Regions from separate parts of the Homo sapiens genome. Here region 2 is linked to region 1. Evidence: promoter capture Hi-C in human tissues and cell types (Jung and others, 2019). All regions are on one chromosome and are shown on one strand. The core of a region is centred on a gene start or on the middle of the fragment in contact, and the rest is flanking DNA. Distances in the headings are between cores, read along the strand shown.

Region 1 (6,247 bases), core at 2,986-5,485:
ACGTAAACACACTGGCCCAGCGACTGGTACTTGAGAGCAAATTGGACTCCCTTCTGGAGGTTGTCCAAGGTGGGGATCCCAGTCATGTCTACTGTGCTGAGCCGCAGCTGCTCGACTCCTAGTCTCTTCCACTCCTGGAACCAGGTCCACCAGTATGAAAAAGAGAATGAAAAAAAACTATGTGGGTGGGATGATAAGGGGCTCCCAAGAAGCAGCAAAGCAACAAGGAAGTTTCAGGGTTTACTACAATGGGAATACACTGTTGCCTGTTTTCTAAAATAGAAACTTCTTACAGAAATGCTTTTTTTTCCCATTCCAGGTGAGGACAGAAATGTCTTTAAAATGGCTGGCCTACATGGTTGGTTTTTCATCAAGCAACAGCTATGCTGCTGAGTTAGAATTATGTCCAAGATTTAAAGTGTTCCTTTTTTTTTTTTTTTTTTTTTTAAAGACAGAGTCTCGCTCTGTTGCCCAGGCTGTAGTACAGTGGCGTGATCTCAGCTCACCACAACCTCCACCTCCCAGTTTCAAGCGATTCTCCTGCCTCAGCCTCCCGAGTAGCTGGGACTACAGGCACGCGCCACCAAGCCTGGCTAATTTTTGCATTTTTAGTAGAGACGGGGTTTCATCATGTTGGCCAGGCTGGTCTCGAACTCCTGACCTCAGGTCATCCGCCTGCCTCAGCCTCCCAAAGTGCTGGGATTACAGGTGTGAGCCACCACACCAGCAGGTAAAGTGTTCTTAAACTACCCTTTGGGTACTTGAATATTTAGCTGCAAGATATTAGCTATATACATTTTAGCTGCAAAAAATTCAGCTGCAAACGTCTTAACATTTTATTTTGGCCGGGCATGGTGGCTCACGCCTGTAATCCCAACAGTTTGCAAGGCCAAGGCGGGCAGATCACCTAAGGTCAGGAGTTTGAGACCAGCCTGGCTAACATGGGGAAACCCTGTCTCTACTAAAAATACAAAAATTAGCCATGCGTGGTGGTGGATGCCTGTGATCCCAGCTACTAGGGAGGCTGAGGCAGGAGAATTGTTTAACCCTGGAGGGAGAGGTTGCAGTGAGCAGAGATCGCACCATTGTACTCCAGCCTGGGAGACAAGAGCAAAACAACATCTCAAAAATATATATATATTTTATTTTAGAGACACGATCTTGCTATGTCACCCAGGTCAGAGAGCAGTGGTATGCAATCATGGCTCCTTGCAGCCTCAAACTCCTAAGCTCAAGCAGTCCTCCCACCTCAGCCTCCCAAGTAGCTGTGACTACAGCTGCATGCCACTGTGCCTGGCTAATTTTGTTATTTTTGTGTGTGTGCAGATGGGGGTCTCGCTATGTTGCCCAGGCTGGTCTCAATCTCCTAGCCTCAAGCCATCCTCCTGTCTCAGCCTCCCAAAATGCTGGGATTACAGGCATGAGCCACCAGGCCCAGCCAGTGTAATTTTTTTGCATAATTTTGGCACCTGTGTAGTGATTCAGCTGCAGATTTGGGGTACAATATTTTGCCAAGGCTTTCTATTTCTCTGTCCATAAGTCTCTTTTTTACCACTGTTTTTTGAGGGAACATATGGTAGAAAATAGGGTTATCATTTTAAAATTAAAACAATGGGCCGGGCATGGTGGCTCATGCCTGTAATCCCAGCACTTTGGGAGGCCAAGGCGGGCGGATCACGAGGTCAGGAGATTTAGACCATCCTGGCTAACACGGTGAAACCCCGTCTCTACTAAAAATACAAAAAAATTAGCCGGGCATGGTGGCAGGCGCCTGTAGTCCCAGCTACTTGGGAGGCTGAGGCAGGAGAATGGCATGAACCCAGGAGGCGGAGCTTGCAGTGAGCCGAGATCGTGCCACTGCACTTCCAGCCTAGGCGACAGAGCAAGACTCCGTCTCAAAAACAAAAACAAAAATAAAATTAAAACAATGCACTGACCTTCATTAGTGCAATGTTATCACTTAGAAGAAATAGGTGGCCAGGTGTGGTGGCTCACGCCTGTAATCCCAGATTTTGAGAGGCCAAGGTGGGCAGATCACCTGAGGTCAGGAGTTCGAGACGACTTTGGCCAGCATGGCAAAACCCTATCTCCATAAAAAATACAAAAATTAGCCAGGCATGCTGGCAGGCACCTGTAATTCCAGCTACTTGGGAGGCTGAGGCAGGAGAATCACTTGAACTGGGAGGCAGAGGTTGCAGTGAGCTGAGATTGCACCATTGCACTCCAGCCTGGGCAAGGGAGTGAGACTCCATCTCAAAAAAAAAAAAAAAAAAAGAAAAGAAATAGAAATAAGGTCTCTGGCAACTGGGCAAACTTTATGCTTTAAGACTTCAGATATGCTCCAGCTACTCTTGTTATTAACCTCTTAATAATGAGTATCAGAGACTTTATGGTTCTAAATGAAGATCAGTAATTCTTTTTTTTTTTTGAGACGGAGACTCACTCTGTCGCCCAGGCTGGCGTGCAGTGGTGCAATCTCGGCCCACTGCAACTTCTGCCTCCCGGGTTCAAGCGATTCTCCTGCCTCAGCCTCCCAAGTAGCTAGGATTACAGGCGCCTGCCACCACGCCCGGCTAATTTTTTTGTGTGATTTTAGTACAGACGGGGTTTCACCATTTTGGCCAGGCTGATCTCAAACTCCTGACCTCAGGTGATCCACCCACCTCAGCCTCCCAAAGTGCTGGGATTACAGGTGTGAGAGCCACCACGCCTGGCCAAGTCACAAATATTTTCAAGGTTTCAAAAAAATCCTCAGGTTGAAATAATAGTATCTTCATCATGCTATATCAGTAAAACAAATGAGAAAGATAATTGTTTAGTGCTATTAGATGCCAAACGCTATAAAGATAGGGCAACATTAAAAAAAAATCAAATAGCTCAGATTGTAGATAACATCTTCTAATAACCATTGTGGAAGATTCCACAAACAGGCCAGTCACATTTAATGAAAGTTATGTTTTAGGCCTAAACTTTGTTATGAGAGAACTTTGGAGTTCCACCATGATTTCTAATATATGACTAAAAATTCCCCCAAATCAGAGCCAAATGAACTCTACAGTTTTCAATGGATAGTTTTATGAAAAATCTGGGGAGGGGAGAGTGTTAAGGGGGTGCTTTTCGTCTTACAGTTGGCAGGGCCTTCATCTGGAATCCCTAACACTGGGAATGCTGACCCATACTCAGAGCTCAAAGTATAGAAAGAATGAATGAAATCAGGAAGGCATGGGAAAGTTGCCTTTCAATTTTAGTTTCTGATTTTGGTTACCGAAATAAGAATACATTACATTTGTTCACAAAGGAGAAATCAGGCTTTGTCAACTTCCACTTTTTTTTTTTTTTTTTTTGAGACATTGTTTCACTCCTGTCGCCCAAGGCTGGGCTGGAATGCAATGGCGAGATGTCGGCTCACTGCAACCTCCACCTCCCGGGCTAAAGTGATTCTCCTGCCTTAGCCTCCCAAGTAGCTGGGAGTACAGGCGCACGCCACCACTCCCGGCTACTTTTTGTATTTTTGTAGGGACGGGGGCCTCGCCATGTTGCCCAGGCTGGTCAGGAACTCCTGGGCTCAAGTGATCTGCCCGCCTCCTCCTCCCGCCTCCCAAAGTGCTGGGATTACAGGCGTGAGTCCCCGCGCCCGGCCCAACTTGAACTTTTAAATAAACGCCTTTCACAGCTTCTAGCCTACCTCCAGGTGCCATTTAGAGGCACAGACCGGAGGCAAAGCAGCTTGAGACACCTGGCTCCGGTGCATGGTGACCTCCCCCACACTTCTCTAGCCGTCCCAGGCTCAGGGCGGTGGGCGAGGGGGAGCGGGCCCCCGAGCCTGCCCCTCGGCCCGGTCCCTCACCTGTGAAGAGTTGCACAGGAACCTCGTCTCGTACTCCTCGTTCATGGTGATCACCCCGCGCACGTTCTCGTCCTGTACCAGCTGCCGAGGCAAAGAGGTGGCTCAGCAAAGACGGTGGAGACCCCAGCGGCCCGACAGGGACGGAGCGGCGGGGACGGGGCAGGGGCCCGGGCTCCCCGGCCCGGCTCACCTGGCGCGTCAAGCTCCGCAACGGCAGCGCGCCCAGCAGCACGGTGGGGTCGATGCGGTGGTACCAGTCCCGGTGCGCCCGACCCGGCACCTTCCCGCGGAACAGGGTGTAGAGCAGCGTCGGGTAGAAGAGCACCCGCGCCAGGCCGGCCTCCAGCAGCGCGGTGGCCGCCATCCCGGCCCGGCGCAGCGGCGACCCGTCGGCCCCCGCGCTCGCGGTCCGGACCCGCGAGAAGAGCAGGCGGGTGCCGGGGCGGGGCTGCCAGCTGCACTAGGCCTCTCGCGGGCTCGCACCGGGTGACGGCGGGGACTGGCCTGGACTCTGGGGGACTGGCGGGACTCTGGAGGAGGGCCCGGCGGCCTCGGAGGAGGGACCGAGGTTTCCTGGGCGGGAAACTGGGACCCCGGCGAAGGGAGAGCGCGTCGCAGGCCAGACACGTGTGAGCCCTGTAGCGTGGGAAACTGAGGCCCCCGCCTGTGGCCGGTGACCTCCCTCCTCCGAGGGAGGGGGGTTGTGACCCCAGGTGAGAGGGGCAGGAAGGACCCCTGCGTGTGGAACTGTGACTCCGGCCGAGGGAGGAGGGGACACTCCCCCCAACCCTCGACCAGAGGAAGGGGGCAGTGACCCAGGTGCGGGTGTGACCCCGCCAAAGGGAAGACAAGACAAGGAGAGGCTGTGTGGCGGGGTAGCCCTGAAGAGGACAGTGGAAGGGCTTAGAGCTTTCAAACAGAGGAGCTACCTGGGTGAGGGCCTGATCCCAGGGTGAACAGGGGTCCTGGGTTGAGGTCGCCTTCCTCCTCCCCTCCCCTGTCCTAGGGCAGGGCTCCCTCCTTCATCTGACCAAACAGCAGTGTTTACATAGCAGGAAAAAATAGGAAAATATACATTATATTAATATATCCTTAAGAAAAATATTATGAAGAGCTCAAATATAAAACCTGCAACCTACAAAAAGGTAAGAAGAATGGTTGTAATGCCAGCTATTTACTTTTTGTTTGTTTGTTTTGAGACGGAGTCTCACTCTGTTGCCCAGGCTAGAGGGCAGTCGCAAGATCTCAGCTCACTGCAACCTCCGCCTCCCGGGTTCAAACGATTCTCCTGCCTCAGCCTCCTGAGTAGCTGGGATTACAGGTGCATGCCACCACACCCAGCTAACTTTTGTTTTTAGTAGAGACGAGGTTTCACCTTGTCAGCCAGGCTGGTCTCGAACCTAAGGTGATCCGCCCACCTCAGCCTCCCAAAGTGCTGGCATTACAGGCATGAGCCACTGCACCCGGCCCAAGCATCTGGTGGAGTTTTTGTTTTTTGTTTTTTGTTTTTGAGACAGAGTTTCACTATTGTCACCCAAGCTGCAGTGCAATGGCGTGATCTCAGCACACTGCAACCTCTGCCTCCCAGGTTCAAGCAATTCTCCTGCCTCAGCCTCCCGAGTAGCTGGGATTACAGGTACATGTCACCACGCCCAGCTAAGTTTTGTATTTTTAGTGAGATGGCTTCAACATGTTGACCAGGCTGGTCTCAAACTCCTGACCTCAGGTGATCCATCCCCCTGGCCTCCCAAAGTGCCAGGATTACAGGCATGAGCCACCGCGCCCGGCTTTCTTTTTTTTTTTTTTTTTTTTTTTGTATTTTTAGTAGAGATGGGGTTTCACCATGTTGGCCAGGCTAGTCTTGAACTCCTGACCTATGGTGATCTGCCAGCCTCAGCCTCCCAAAGTGTTGGGATTACAGGCATGAGCCACACGCCCGGCCCAAGCATCTGGTGGAGATTTTGTTTGTTTGTTTGTTTTTAAGATAGAGTTTCACTCTTGTCACCCAAGCTGGAGTGCAATGGCGTGATCTCAGCTCACTGCAACCTCTGCCTCCCAGGTTCAAGCAATTCTCCTGCCTCAGCCTCCCGAGTAGCTGCCACCACGCCCAGCTAAGTTTTGTATTTTTAGTAGAGACAGGGTTTCACCATGTTGGCCAGACTGGTCTCAAAGTCCTGACCTGAGGAGATCCGTCCCCCTCGGCCTTCCAAAGTGCCGGGATTACAGGCATAAGCCACCATGCCCGGCCCATCTGGTGGTTTTAAAAGATTCATTTTCTTTTTTTTATATTTTGTTTTTGAGACGGAGTCTCCTTCTATTGACTAGGCTGAAGTGTAGTGGCGCCATCTCCACTCACTGCAACCTCCACCTCCCGGGTTCAAGCAGTTCTCCTGCCTCATC
Region 2 (6,638 bases), core at 2,942-5,441, 330 kb after region 1:
TAAAAGTGTCCCAGTCCCACAGTGCCCCAGGTCCCAGCACCCCTGCTCCAACCCTAACCTTGGATACTTTTGGCCCTTTAACAAATCGCCACCTCTGCTTGCAGGACTTGATCCCATGTGTGGGCTCCAAGGCCTTGTCTGGCCCACACCTTCTTTAGTGTCTCTCACTTCCGTGTCCTGGCTTCCTCCTGGCTCCAGATGAGAATGTGGTAACCTAGGAAGAGTGAGACCAGTCTGACTTACACTTTCTGTTACCAATCTCTCAGAGCCTGGGGCTGGCCCGCAAACCTACAATTTGGTAAAGAAATACTAGGAAGGCCGGGCGCGGTGGCTCAAGTCTGTAATCCCAGCACTTTGGGAGGCTGAGGTGGGCGGATCACGAGGTCAGGAGACCGAGACCATCCTGGCTAACACGGTGAAACCCTGTCTCTACTAAAAATACAAAAAATTAGCTGGGCGTGGTAGCGGGCACCTGTAGTCCTAGCTACTCGAGAGGTTGAGGCAGGAGAATGGCGTGAACCCAGGAGGCGGAGCTTGCATTGAGCCAAGATCACGCCACTGCACTCCAGCCCGGGGGGACAGAGCGAGACTCCGTCTCAAAAAAAAAAAAGAAATACTAGGAAACTGGACAGTAGCCAGGCATTGCATGACCAAGACAAAGCCAGAGGAATGGAGGGCCTTGGCTATAGAGACCACTGTCTCCCAGCCATCTTCTTCGTGGGCCACTGCCCTGGGGTGAATGTGGCAGGGCGGGGCTGAGGCTGGCCCGCACTGAACCTTGGGAAGTAGGATCGGACTTGGCAAGTCAGAGACATTCTCCTCCTACTCACCCATTGCAGAGGCCAGCGTGTCCCCCATGGGATTGAATTCATTAAGCTGCAGAGACAAGAGTGTCAACATGAGGAGAGGGTGAAGGTATTAGCAGAGACACCTGATTTCTGGTCACTTTTGGTCAATAAGGTAGGTTGAATCCCTGCTTCCTCCCATCATTATTTGAGGACCCAAGCCTCACCGAACTGATGCCAGAAGATTCTGGGTCATAGAGCTGACACATCATCTTCCCTGAGTTTCCATCGAACACGTCGATCGTCCTCAATTCATAAGGGGTACAACTTTTGAAATTAGGATCTGGGTATCGGCCCACAACAATGAGGTTGTAGCGAGGATGCCAGGCTGCCTAGGAGATGGAGAGGCCGGCCATGAGGGTAAACACAGAACATGATCAAGGGGGACATCAAAAACAAATATGAACAAAGAGGAACATCAAAAGTATTCTTTGGGCTGAGTGCAGTGGCTCACACCTGTAATCTCAACACTTTGGGAGGCTGAGGCAGGCGGATCACGAGGTCAGGAGATCGAGACCATCCTGGCTAACATGGTGAAACCCCGTCCCTACTAAAAATACCAAAAAAAAAATTAGCTGGGCGTGGTGGTACATGCCTGTAGTCCCAGCTACTTGGGAGGCTGAGGCAGGGGAATCACTTGAACCCGGGAGGCGGAGGTTGCAGTGAGTGAAGATCATGTCACTGCACTCCAGCCTAGGTGACAGAGCAAGACTCTCAAAAAAAAAAAAAAAAAAGTAGTATTTGCCAGTAACAAGCCAACCTAATAATGGAGATAAGTCTTACAGAAAACTACAAGAATGGTTTTAGGTTGTGTGTGCCTCTGCCATTGCACATTTTTAATCCCTAGCTGGCCTCCCTGGCCCTTAGGGCACCTTCAGGCCTTCTCCCTCATTTGCATTTCCTAAGATCATACCAACTGGTAAACGTTTTAACATCAGCCTGACCCAGATACTGACCTAAGAGGCCTACAACAAAGCAGAAAAAGCCTCTGGTGACCAAACCCTAACAGGACTTGAGTTCTGGAGGAGCCCCACTGTCATCCTGTCTCCATCAACACGAATAACTAAGAGCTGAGTGTAAAATTGCTAATGGCTAAAAAAGAGAAGGAAACCCACATTCCCCAGATCACCCCACTAAAAACAAATCTGGCAGTTATTAAAATGGCAGAATTGGATGGGATTTTCCTAAACTTCTCAAGGAAGTTTTGAAGGAAGAAAGACATGGTTAGCAGGAAGGAAGAAATAGTACATGCGAAGGCTTAGAAATAAGTCACAAATCACACACAGGAAGCTGTAATGACTTACGACACCTGGCTAGATACAAACTGGGACATGCAGACAGATGGATTATCGGGAACACTGATGGATTAACAGGAACACCAACTGGGGAAGGATTCTTGACATTATTTATTAAGAGCTTGGATGTGATTGAGGTACGTGGGGGCCACTCAATATTCAATCATCATTTATTGAATACTTACCAGTACTTACCAGGTGCTGGGCATGGGGCCAAGTGCTTTAAGTATACTGACTCATCTTCACAACAACCCTATCAGTTAGAGACTAGTATTCCCTTTTTGCAGATGAGGAAACAGATCCAAAATATAAGTAATTTGCCCAAGGATTCTAACCCGGGGGGTCTGGCTGCTGGAAACTGGCGCTCCCCACCACTATTCTGAACTGACCAGAGAAGTATAGGCATAAAACCTGAAGATCTGAAGAGGATCTGTAGTTTTGGAAAAGAATGCAGAACTAGCAGAGCTCAGTCTGCATGGGGGCTTAGGCAAAAAGGCATCAAAGGACTTGAAAGCTATTAGTGTTGGGGACTAATGATAGAGAAGCTATTAACAAGAGCCTGAGAAAAGGTGGGAAAATAAAAGACTTATTTTTATTATTAGAAGCACTGAAACCTGCAAGACAAACTAAGAAGGCAAAGTTGCCAGGCGCAGTGGCTCATGCCTGTAATCCTAGCACTTTGGGAGGCCAAGGTTGGGGGATGGCTTCAACCTAGGAGTTCAAGACCAGCTTGGGCAACATGGCAAAACCCCATCTCTATAAAAAATAAAAAAATTAGCTGGGTATGGTGGCGCATACCTGTAGTCCAATCTACTTCCGAGGCTAAGGCGGAAGGATTGCTTGAACCCAGGAGGTTGAGGCTGCAGTGAGCTATGTTTGTGCCACTGCACTCCAGCCTGGGTGACAGAGCAAGACCGTTTCAAGAAAAAAAAAAAAAAAAAAAAAAAGGATCAGCCTGGGTAACACAAGAATACCCTGTCTCTACAAAAAAAAAAAAAGTGAGGCAGGAGGATCGCTTGAGCCTGGGAGATCAAGGCTGTAATGAACCATGCTTGCCCCACTGTACTCCCACCTGGGTGACAGAGCGAGACCCTGCCTTAAAAAAAATAATAAAAAAATAAAAAATGAAGGTTTGTGGGTCAACTGTACACAGGTAACTGAAGCTGAGAAGACAGAACAGAGGGTCAGGATCTTAGAAAATTCTCACAGTGAGATCAGAGCTGGGCTGAAAAAACTCAGAAAAATATCTTATCAGCGAGACAGAAAACTCAACCATATGGGATGGCAGAAGTGGGATAAAAGGAAGAGAGAGAGCCAATGGGTAAGAGATGCTCTGTGCTCGGGCCAGGAGCGATCTGGGGTGGCAGGCTTACCACATCAGCCCTTCCCCACTGTGGGCAGACCTGCTCCGGCCTCATGATCACAGCCTCCTTCTGCGAGCTCCTTCCCACCGCCACTCACCTTGATGGGTGTGAGGTGCTGGAAGTGACGGTGAGGGTGCGGGATCAGGCCCAGGGGGCAGTCCCACTGGGAAGCAGAGTAAACTCGGATCTCGCTCTTCTGGTCCGTGGTCAGGAGCCGGGCTCCATCGGGACTGAAACAAGCTGGCAAAGTGAAAAGCCCCTGAGCTGAAGGAACCACAAGCCCTCTGTGGTCCTGGCCTTGCAGGCCTTCTCCTGCAGGGGTACTCTCCCTCCCACTCCTCTCTAGACAGGAGCGGAAAGGAAGAGGTGAATCTGGGCTGTGAACAACAACAAAAAAATTCTGGAAACTCAGCAGCTGATGGGGACAGCCACAGCCACAAAGGTTCCCAGACATCAGCTTGGCAGACGCTATCAGGGGTAAAGGTTTGACGTAGTGGCTTCCACACTGAGGGAAAACCCCAGCAGTGGTCAGACAGGCAGGGTCTGCAGGAGAGATGAGGTCTGGGATATCACACCTGCGTTGACAGGATGCCTGTGCGGCAGCGAGTAGAGGAAGCTGGCTTTCCCTCTAACCTGGCGCAGGTCCCAAATTTTCACTGTTTGATCTACGGAGGCTGTGGCCAGGAACCAATCACAGCATGGGTTCAGGGCCACATGCGTCACTTTCTTTTTGTGCATTCTGAGATTCCAAAGCTGCAGAGAAGAGCTCGGTTCAGGTGGGGACACAGAACCGAGGTGGGGGTGAGGGAGGGAAAGGCAGGACCTCGGAGAACGCACCTCTTTGCCGTCCATGTTCAGCAGGATCACGTTCCCCACGTTGTCTCCTGTGACCACCATTCGGCTACTAGCAGACACATCCAGGCTACAAAACCAGATGCTGGAGGGAGAGACTGTGTTGTAAGATTCTTGGGGACAGAGATAGTCCTATTTACTCACTGTTGCCGCTCCGGTGACTAACCCACAGCGGGCATTCAATAAATATTTGTTGAATGAATGAATAACTGTCTTGCCGTGGATTCCTAGTGAGGAACATTCAGACTGCTCTACCGTCCAGACAGAGGGGATGGGATAATGGGGCTCAGAAATCTGTCTGGTTATGGCTGGGCCCAGGATCCCCAGCTCCTAAAAGTCCCTGAAGCAGACAAAGCTTATACCATAAAGCAAGCCCTGAGGCACGCCTGCCCCCCACACCCCGGGTTCTGAGCAAGCCTCCTTTACTGCTCTCTCCTTTCACTCTTCACCCTTTAGGCCAAAGGAGACACAAGCCAAAGAGGGATTGCCTGGCCCTGTTCCTCAGAGCTGGCTAGAAAAGCACTTCTGCCCCCTTCTGAACACTGGGGGAAAAAACACAACCAGGAGCTCTTCTGGTCCCTCAAACCACTGGACTGGGAGGCTGACTAGGAGGGTGCTTCAGGGATCCTGCTATTCAGCCAGAAGAGCTCAGCTCACAGTTTTTCTCTCAAACTCTCAAATCCATGCTACACTGCCTTTTGCCATCCCCTATGAATATCTTCAAGCAGGAAGATTTCTTGCGGAAGAGTAGCCTGGAGCCTTGTCTATCCAATTGCCTGCTGATTTGCGTGCGCATGCACTCCTCATCCCTGCGGGACAGCCCAGGATCCAATCCAATGCTAGTTACACCCCAGCACCCTCACTTAATTCCTCAGGGAGCAGTCAGAGTCACGGCTCTAGCTGGAAATCAAAGTGACGAGTATTCTGTAATTTTTTTTTTTTTTTTTTGAGATAGATTTTCGCTCTTGTTGCCCAGGATGGAGTGCAATGGCGCCATCTCGGCTCACTGCAACCTCTGCCTCCTGGGTTCAAGCGATTCTCTTGCTTCAGCCTCCCAAGTAGCTGGGAATTACAGGGGCCTACCACCACGCCCAGCTAATTTTTTGTATTGTTAGTAGAGATGGGGGTTTCACCATGTTGGCCAGGCTGGTCTCGAACTCCTGACCTCAGGTGATCCACCCACCTTGGCCTCCCAAAGTGCTGGGATTTCAAGCATGAGCCACTGCACCCGGCCGCATTCTGTAATTTCTCCAGCCACTTTCTCTTGGGAAGTCCAGAGCACTTTATGGAAAAGATTCCATCCATATAAGCTTCCACCCAGGAACAGGTCAGGTCATTACACCACAGTGAGTGCAGGGCATTCAGTCTCAAGTTCTGAGCTGTTGCTCCATTCTCTAGGTGGCTTTCTGGGTCCACGCCATGCTGGCTTATCTAGTGAGGGTCAAGGTCCAGTCTAATACAGGTATGACTTACAGAAGAGCTGAGGCTCCAGAACACCTTCCCAAAGCAGTAACCCACCTGGACCAAAGTGAGGGCAGCCAAGGAGCAGTTTGAGAAAGAGAAAGAAGGGCGGAAAGTGGCTGACATCTTTCCTTTCTTCCCTGGGCCAGGTTGGGTTAAGGAAATGGGATCTGGATGCTCTTGCCGGAACTACACCTAAGCTTAGAAGCCCTTTCCCCTGCTAGTTAAACTACTCACTTGATGGTGTCTGAGCTGGCAAAAACTCGTAGAATGTTGCCTTTAAAGTCTTGCAGCCTAGTTGTTCCCTCCATTGAGGAGGCGTAAAACTGGTTGGTATTGAGAGGGTTAAACTTCAGCCCAGTGATGCTCCCTCCAGCTCCAATCTAACACGAGGAAGGAAAAAGCCAGTGAGTGATGATGGGCCTGGCCGTGAGGAACCAGGCCTGGGCACACATGCTGCGCCGTCACAGAAGCACCCCTCGAGCAGCGCTTGGGGCCAGGTCAGCTTAGACACTAGGACGCTCTCTACAGGGCCTTCACTTCTTTTTCTTTTCCTTTGAAATAGGGTCTTTCTCTGTCACTTAGGCTGAAGTGCAGTGGCACAAACACGGCTCACTGCAGCCTCAATCTCCTGGGCTCAAGCGATCCTCCCACCTCAGCCTCCCAAGTGCGTGCCACCATGCCCAGCTAATTTTTCTATTTTTTTTTTTTAAGATGGGGTTTTGTCACGTTGCCCAAGCTGGTCTTGAACTCCTAAGCTCAAGCGATCCCCCTGCCACGGCTTCCCAAAGTGCTAAGATTACAGGCATGAGCCGCTTTGT

The links. Contacts are between HindIII fragments. The study calls those that stand out against the background at their distance.
Region 2: a contact is called between a fragment that was not itself captured here and the fragment with the promoter of PTPMT1 in region 1, in 1 of the 25 tissues and cell types used here (spleen).

What each region holds. Positions count from the first base shown.
Region 1 is chr11:47,563,587-47,569,833 of GRCh38, reverse strand. PTPMT1 (protein tyrosine phosphatase mitochondrial 1) reads right to left here and starts at 4,235. Exons shown (of 4, transcript NM_175732.3): 1 at 4,038-4,235; 2 at 3,848-3,928; 3 at 1-134. The coding sequence starts at 4,211. It also overlaps a transcript of CELF1 not described here. RefSeq lists silencers at 3,724-3,803, 3,934-4,413 and enhancers at 3,723-4,223, 4,224-4,724. The HindIII fragment of the contact is 19,699 bases long and covers 1-6,247 here.
Region 2 is chr11:47,232,376-47,239,013 of GRCh38, reverse strand. DDB2 (damage specific DNA binding protein 2) reads right to left here. Exons shown (of 10, transcript NM_000107.3): 4 at 6,055-6,200; 5 at 4,342-4,441; 6 at 4,080-4,257; 7 at 3,602-3,744; 8 at 1,013-1,177; 9 at 831-876; 10 at 1-214. The coding sequence ends at 165. Among named protein-coding and RNA genes, the nearest start is that of ACP2, 13 kb to the left of the region's middle. The HindIII fragment of the contact is 6,251 bases long and covers 1,066-6,638 here.